Linked DNA regions of Homo sapiens: region 2 is linked to region 1. Evidence: promoter capture Hi-C in human tissues and cell types (Jung and others, 2019). All regions are on one chromosome and are shown on one strand. The core of a region is centred on a gene start or on the middle of the fragment in contact, and the rest is flanking DNA. Distances in the headings are between cores, read along the strand shown. Region 1 holds the start of GALNTL6 (polypeptide N-acetylgalactosaminyltransferase like 6). Region 2 has its middle 19 kb from the start of LINC02174.

Evidence for each region. Contacts are between HindIII fragments. The study calls those that stand out against the background at their distance.
Region 2: a contact is called between a fragment that was not itself captured here and the fragment with the promoter of GALNTL6 in region 1, in 1 of the 25 tissues and cell types used here (lymphoblastoid cells).

What each region holds. Positions count from the first base shown.
Region 1 is chr4:171,811,598-171,815,683 of GRCh38, forward strand. It overlaps GALNTL6 (polypeptide N-acetylgalactosaminyltransferase like 6), which reads left to right and starts at 1,807. Exons shown (of 13, transcript NM_001034845.3): 1 at 1,807-2,393; 2 at 2,815-3,121. The coding sequence starts at 2,984. It overlaps LOC441052 (a long non-coding RNA gene), which reads right to left and starts at 2,010. Exons shown (of 1, transcript NR_134656.1): 1 at 541-2,010. RefSeq lists a silencer at 1,728-1,777 and an enhancer at 2,018-2,167. The HindIII fragment of the contact is 16,056 bases long and covers 1-4,086 here.
Region 2 is chr4:171,655,929-171,659,962 of GRCh38, forward strand. No RefSeq gene overlaps it. Among named protein-coding and RNA genes, the nearest start is that of LINC02174, 19 kb to the left of the region's middle. The HindIII fragment of the contact is 5,131 bases long and covers 2-4,034 here.

The DNA of each region.
Region 1 (4,086 bases), core at 557-3,056:
TGAAGCATGTTTCAACTCAACACCCTGGATTCAACAAATAGAATGCTAGTATGTCTATTCCTGATCCAAGACTATTTTTTAAGGTATTAAAAAACAGGTATTGTTTAAAATGTGAGAGATTTTACTTTTTTAATTCCAAGTGCACTTTTGAGTTATTTTACTTTGAAAATTAATAACTGTATCAGTACTTAAAAATATATCCAATATAATTAAATGATTCTCCAAATTTATTTCCTTGAGCACCTGACAATATTCCCAGGAAACCTCTCCCTGCTATGTTGCTTCCCAGAATTCACATTTCTGTGTTTCAAAACTGCACTTCCTTAGAGAGAAAAAGGTTAGAAAATAACGCAGACTACAAAAGGCATAGTGTATGTGTGGGGGTGGGGGTGAGGAATTAAGTCCCTTGCACTCTAGATTAAGTTGCATTTATATAAAATCTAAAGGTAATTGGTCTTTATATAAAGGACACATTCAACAACATTTATTAAATATATTTTTAGACTATTTTAAAATTCAAGTGATTCACAAAAACAAATATTACAGCATAGCGCTTTATTCATGCCATCATACAGTCGATCTGTATTCTTCAAGTACATTTTGAATTTATAATGAGAACAGTTTAAGGCATAACTCTTCCCACTCAAATCTAGGTCTTTCTCAAGTGAGACACTAGAGAGAGTAGAAAGGGAGGAAGAGATAGGGCGAGAAGAAAAGGAGGGAGGGACAGAGATGAGGACGAGAAAGAAGAAAAAAGGGAAAGAGAAAATACCGTCTGAAGTCCACAGGCTTATCTATCCCAAGCATGTCTACCCCACGCATGTGGGCATCATATCCAGGTTGTAACAAAGAGGTGACCATGGCGTTTATTTTTGGCTCCAGACAGGCGGATTCAGCCTGCATTGCATGCATGCATGTCTGTCACCTCATCTAAGTCCCCATTCCTTCCGGAGTTGTGAGCTCCAGATCCAAGAGTGCCCAGTGCACGGTGCTGGGCACGCTGTCCCTTGGCGAGGCTGCCACAGGTTCCTGAGTGTGCGGTCAGGGGCGTTGGTGCATTGATACGTTAGGCGGAGGGAGGAGTACCATCTGCCAGAGTCTTATCTCGAGTCCCACGTTTTCTGGCCATCGCGGAGGAGTGTGCGAGGACAGGTAGCCCTCGCAGTGACAAGGCGCGCGGAGTGCGGTCGTGCAAGGCGGGGGAGGAGCGGGGTGGCCCTGCCGAATCTTAACCGGGGCCCCGGGTGTTTGCAGACCCAAATAAAGCCGCCTTGGGTCTCCACGGTGTCCTCCAGAAGCTGCTGCCTGAGAACTCTGAGCCTCAGCTCTGTCTTGCTTCGGGATCCTCTTCCTCCTCCTTCCCCACCCCCTACCTGGCCTGAACGGCGGAACGCGCGGCTCGGGGGATCCCCTCTCCCTGGGACCGGCCCTGTCCCGGGTCGCCTCCACCTCCCGCAGCCGCCGCGCCCCGGCTCGCCGCGCTCCCGCCGGCACCATGGAGGAATTCCTGGGACAACCGCCTGCAGCCGGCGACTTTTCCCCAGGAATCTCTGGCCTGGCGCCCTTTGGGTGAGATGACGGGGTGCTGGCATCCCTGTCGGTCCCAGATTACCCGGAAAAGCCCTGGCAGGTAAAGAGAGGACCCGCGCAGGCTGGGAGCTCCCACTCCTCCTCCAGCGTCACGCTCGCCCTCCGCCGCTGCCTCGCGTCCGGGTCTGTTTATATAGCGTCTGGAGGCCGGGAGGCATTGCCCACCCCCGCCAGGCGGCCCGCCCTCCCCTCCTGGGCTCCGGGCTGCCGCACGTGGCAGACACCAGCGACGTCTCCGCGGAAGGCAGGCGCCGGGGAGTGGGGCGCGGGCGACCGTGTGCAGCCGCGGCGCATCTCCGCCTTCCGCTCCTCCTCGCAGCGCCCTCGTCCGCTTCCAAGCCCAGCACAGACTTCGGTTTCTCCGCCTCCATCCCCTTTACGAGAAGAGGAGATCAAAAAATATTGCCCTTTAGGTGCTCGTGATGGTCCTGTGGGTTCGTTCAGTTGCCAGAAAAGAATGGTAACATGAACAGCGGAGCGTGAGAGCGTCACCGGGGGAAGGGACGAGATTGATGGGCAGAGCGCTCACTTCTCAGAGGATCGCATTCCGAGGACCGCGCGAGGAAGGGACGTCGCGGCGCCACCACTTCCTGGCTGGACTCCGCTGACATCTGTAGCCTCCTTTCCACCAGGTTCCCGGGGCTCCCAGCCGCTGCCTGCAGAGGAGCGTGTAGACAGCGCGCGAGGGTCCGGCACTTCGTGGACCTCCATCCGAACCGGAGTTCTGCCCGGATCCCGAGTCCCTGGATCCCGGTGGAGCCCGCCGGCAAGCTGGCTCCGGAGGGAGTTGAACTTGAGTTCAGGTGGGTTATCCCAAGGGGAGCACAGGAAAAGATGTTCAGGGAAGACGAAGAAGGTGACGCTGTTCCAATGTCAAAAGCGGACACTTTTCTTCCTGACACTTGAAGGGGTTGAGCCAGTTCCTCTCAGTTCTGTCTCCTAACCCGCTCCACCCCGACCCAGCCCTCCCACACTAAGGAGGTGGGGGGCGAACAACAACAACAGCAACAAAAACTCCCAGTTACCTAAGTATCTAGCAGGCTGTTGACTTTTTTATAACTTACCTTTAGTCAATGAAACGACCATATTTACTCTATTGCTTTATATTAATGGAGGTCAATGGGCTTAATGATTTCTTTAGTCAAGTCATTTATTTCTAAGCCAATAGATAATGCCTTCGTCATAGTTTTCTGGGGGGAAAGTAACTGTGCGTTTGTTCTGCAGATGGCCAACTCCCTCTGAATCCTGCAGATTGGTGCTGAGCACGCAACAAAAGTTTGTAGCTTCTCAGTTTCTGGTGCTTCGCAGGGGAGAGGAAAGGAATTTGACATTAAACACAAGAAGCAGTCAGGGAGCCATCTCCTTTAACTTTTCTTCTCTGTTACCATTTGCAATGAAGAGGAAACAGAAGAGATTTCTGCAGATGACTTTGTTGTTCACGGTGGCTTTAATTTTCCTGCCTAACGTTGGTCTCTGGTCTCTGTACAAGGATAAGCACCTGGTGAAGTCAGCGGAGCCCGGGGAGCAGCAGGTAAGTGCCACCCAGAGAAAGATCACACAAGGATTGGTAAGGCAGTGATCCTCGCGCGGGGACTCGAGAAAGCCGGTGTGGGATCGCCTTGGGTTTTCCCCCAAGTCTTGACAGAGCTGATTATTACAAGACTCTAGAGACTTTGGGGTTTAAGCAAGTAGATGTTTTAAGATTGCAGCCAGTAACATCGTGACATGTACAACTAGTAAAGAAGGATAAGACAGGTCAAGAAGAAGAGAAGATAATCTTTCACCATTGGTCTTAGGTTGATTTTGACTTGAGGTGGATGAAAGGTAACTGTTCAGCTATGGAGGTGGGAGTGGGTTTGGTGCAAGTTTAATGACAAGGATAGGTTTTTGCTTTCCATTTGGCATGCATGTCTATGTTCAGGTGAATTGGGCCAACTAAATCATTAAGATTGTGAAGTGGTTCTTTAAAAATCAAGCTATGGTTTTCAGTATTTTGGTTGTAAATTTTGCTTAGCAACAGCTTTTTACCCTGTCGAAACTTAAAGTCTCTCTTTCGTCTCCCCTGTTGCTAAGGTGCTGCCATGGGGCACACAGGCAGAGTTATTAAGGACGTTCATTCCGTTTCACAGTCGCTTGATAACAGTATGTTGCTAACAGCTTGCTGTCATATTGGAAACACCCATACTAAAGATATGTAGTATAATATGTTTTCTTTCTACTTAATATGTAACTCATTAGTATGTATATACCTCATGACTTAACATGGACCAAAATAACTGTGTTCCCTGGTGAACAATAATGCAAAATAGACTTCCCAAAATGTTGATGAAAATCAATGTTGTCGAATTCCTTGTTTGTTAATAAATAAAATAGCTTCCGTAATTAAACGTTTAACAACAGAATGCAGTCTTCTTCATGATATTGATAAACCACTTTTTCAGTTAGTCCTGTGCATCACCTTGGAATATTAATATTCTTAATTTCAAGGGTCATCAC
Region 2 (4,034 bases), core at 1,317-3,816, 150 kb before region 1:
TGGTAAGTATTAATGTATCCCAACATATAAAAGTAGAAAAAGTACAGTAAAAATAAAGTATAAAATATAAAAATAGTATACTTTAATAGAAAACTTACCTTGAATGGAGAATGGAGGACTGGAAGTTGACTCTGAGTGAGTCCACGAGTGAGTGGTGAGTGAATGTGAAGCTCTAGGACATTACCATATACCATTATAGACACTATAAGCATTGTACATTTAGGCTATACTAAATTTGTTTTTAAACATTTTCTTTAGTGATAAATTAAACTTAGCTTACTTTGACTTTTACTTTATAAACTTTTTAATAATTTTCAACTTTTTGACTCTTTAATAAAAACACTTAGCTTAAAACAAAAATATTTTACAGCTGTGCAAGAATATTTTTCTTTCTTTATATCCCTATTTTACAGACTTTTCATTATTTTTAAATTTTAAATTTCTCTTTTTCACTTTTTAAACTTTTTTTGGTAAAAACTAAGACACAAATACACACGAGCTTAGGCCAATACCGGTCAGGATCATCAGTGTCACTGCCTTCCACCTCCAGGGCTCGTCTCCCTGGAAGTTCTTCAGGGACAATAACAGGCATAGAGCTGTGGTGTCCTATGCTAACAATGCCTTCTTTTGGAATACCACCAAGGGACCTGCCTGAGATCATTGTACCATTAATCTTTTCTTGTTTTTTAAGTAGAAGGAGTATACTCTAAAACAACAACAAAAAGTTATAGTATGGTCAATAAATAAACAAGTAACATTTCATTTGTTATCATTATTAAGTGTTATGTATTGTATGTTACATGCCTTTTATGACTGGTAGGCCTGTAGTAGGTTGTTTATGTCAGCTTCACCACAAACACATGAGGAATATGTTGTGTTCTGATGTTAAGACAACTATGATGTTCCTAGGCGATAGGAATTTTTCAGCTTCATTATGATCCAATGGGACCACCATTGTATACGCGGTTCATTGTTAACAGAAACATCATTATGTGGCATGTGACTGTGTATATATATATATATATATATATATATATATATATATATATAAAACCAACCTCAGTGCATTGATGGATGATGAACGGATAAAGAAAATATGGTATACGCATACATACATACGTATATATATAAATGTATATATAATATATATTATATGTATGTATATACACACATACCTATATACATATGTATATACATATGTACGCATACATACATATGTATATACACACACGCATACATATGTATATACGTATATATATGCTTATATATACGCATATATGTATACGTATATATGCGTATATATGTATATATGTATATATGTATACGTATATATGCGTATATATGTATATATGTATATATGTATACGTATATATACACATATATGTATATATGTATATATGTATATGTATATATACACATATGTATATATACACATATACATGTATATATACACATATATGTATATATGTATATATACGTATATATGTATATATGTATATATACGTATATATGTATATATGTATATATACGTATATATGTATATATGTATACATACACATACACGTATATATGTATATACGTATACATACACATATACACATATATATGTATATACGTATACATACACATATATGTATATACGTATACATACACATATGTGTATATACGTATACACACACATATGTGTATATACGTATACACACACATATGTGTATATACGTATACACACACATATGTGTATATATGGATATACGTATACATACACATATATGTATATATGGATATACGTATACATACACATATATGTATATATGGATATATACATATATACGTATATATAAATACATATATACACATATATACACATACATACATACGTATATACATATGTACACATACATACATATGTATATACGTGTGTACATACATACGTATGTATATACATATGTTACATACGTATGTATATACATATGTTACATACGTGTGTATATACATATGTTACATACGTGTGTATATACATATGTTACATACGTGTGTATATACATATGTTACATACGTGTGTATATACATATGTATGCATACATACGTATGTATATATGTATGTATATGCATATGTATGTATGTGTATACCATATTTATCCATTCATCATCTATCAACGCACTTAGGTTGGTTACATACCTCAACTGTTGTGAATAGTGCTTCAATAAACATGAAGTGCAGATATCTCTTTGACATGCTGATTTTATTTCCCTTGGATGTATACCAGAAATGAGACTGCTAGACCGTATGGTAGTTCTGTTTTTAATTTTTGAAGAATTCCATACTGTTTTCCATCATGGCTGCACCAATTTACATTTCTACCAACAGTGAACACGCCTTCTGGCTTCTTTACATTTTGCCAACACTTATCTTTTGTCCTTTTGATAGTAACTATTCTATTAATAATAACAGATGTGAGGCAATATCTCACTAGGAGGTTGACGGGGAGCTCAGCTCAGCACCAGAATTCTAGTTGTCATATGAGGAAACAATAGCTAAGATTTACCTATCACTAACATCAGCAATCACACAACACCTGTATCACACAGAGGAAGTGATCTGTGACCATCTGCACTATCTTAATGTGGAGGAAAAGTTAAATATTAGATTTGAACTCAATTGAACATGGACACAAACAATGGTTACCAAGTCCCAGAACAGGTTGTGTGAACACCTTGAGGTGTTCATTCAGAGCTGTTTTGGAGAAATCTCTATTTCAATCTATTCCTATACGTTAGTTATTGAAAAACAATAGACAATCACAAAAAACAAGTTGACTTTTTGTGTTCCTTGAGCCCAGTCACAAAGGGCCCTCGTAACTGGACCTCATGCCAAACAACTCGTTACAAAAAGAGATAGGGTCCCAGACTGTGCCAAAGCTTCATGACACCTCTCCTCATCTGTAAACAGACGAGTGACCGACTCTGGAGCCCAGGCTGTTGCTTCCCGGTCTAGTGGTGAATCCTCCATAGTCTGGTGAGTGTAAATATCTTTTCCCTTCTCTCCTTCCCATTGCAATTTGCTTATTATATCAATCTATTTATTATATATTATTATATCATTTGCTTATTATACCTGCATTGCCATTTACATGGGATAAAGATTGTTTACCCTTAAAGGTATTGTGTTTGTGTCTTTTCTTCTCCCCTCGTGCGTTGCCCACACAGAACACTTATTCACATAAGATAATCCCAATCCCTACCTCTTTTGCCATATAAAAAAATTTCGATAGGCCAGTGAAATTAAATTTAGGAACTGGAGGAAAAGGAGCAAAAAGATAGTTGAAGAGAGAAGGGACATCTTGTTGAAGTTACCTTGAACCAAACAGTGACCGTGAATATAACAATTTGAGTCAGGCCAGAAAATAAATGAATAAATCAAACACTATATCTAAATTTTCTGATTATCTTAATTTTTCTTACCTCTGACAAGAAAGAATGAGCTTGTGTTTTTATGTCAAAGAAAAGTGTTTCAGTTACTAAAAGAAAGCAGGTTTTATATTTGTATATAGTTTATTGTTGAATGCACAGTTCACAGCCTCTGTTGAAAAATTCGATCCTATAGAAAAAGTTGTCACTCAATTTGTAATGTGGACAGGAAAACTTTTTTTTCACAGAAAACTTGTATTGCCAGGATCCTCTATGTTCCATGTAGCTTGATTTTTTTTATAAAGATCAACTAACACTGCTTAAGCACAAATGTGGTATATATTGTGTTAGAATTATATATAAATCAAGTAGCACAGACAGAGCAAAAACAACATGTAATACAATAGATTTCTTTATTTGAGATGTAATTTTCCTGATAAAATTGCTATGCTTCATTTCCAGCAATATATTTAACTCAAGTAGCATAAAACCAGGGAATGTCAGAAAGCTGCCGATTCTCCAGAGAAAGGGGCTCATCTTATTAAGCAATGCAACTGTGACAATGTGTAGGATATTTCTCAATTAATTTTCTTTTTCTGATAAGGTATTCTATACATTGGGGAACA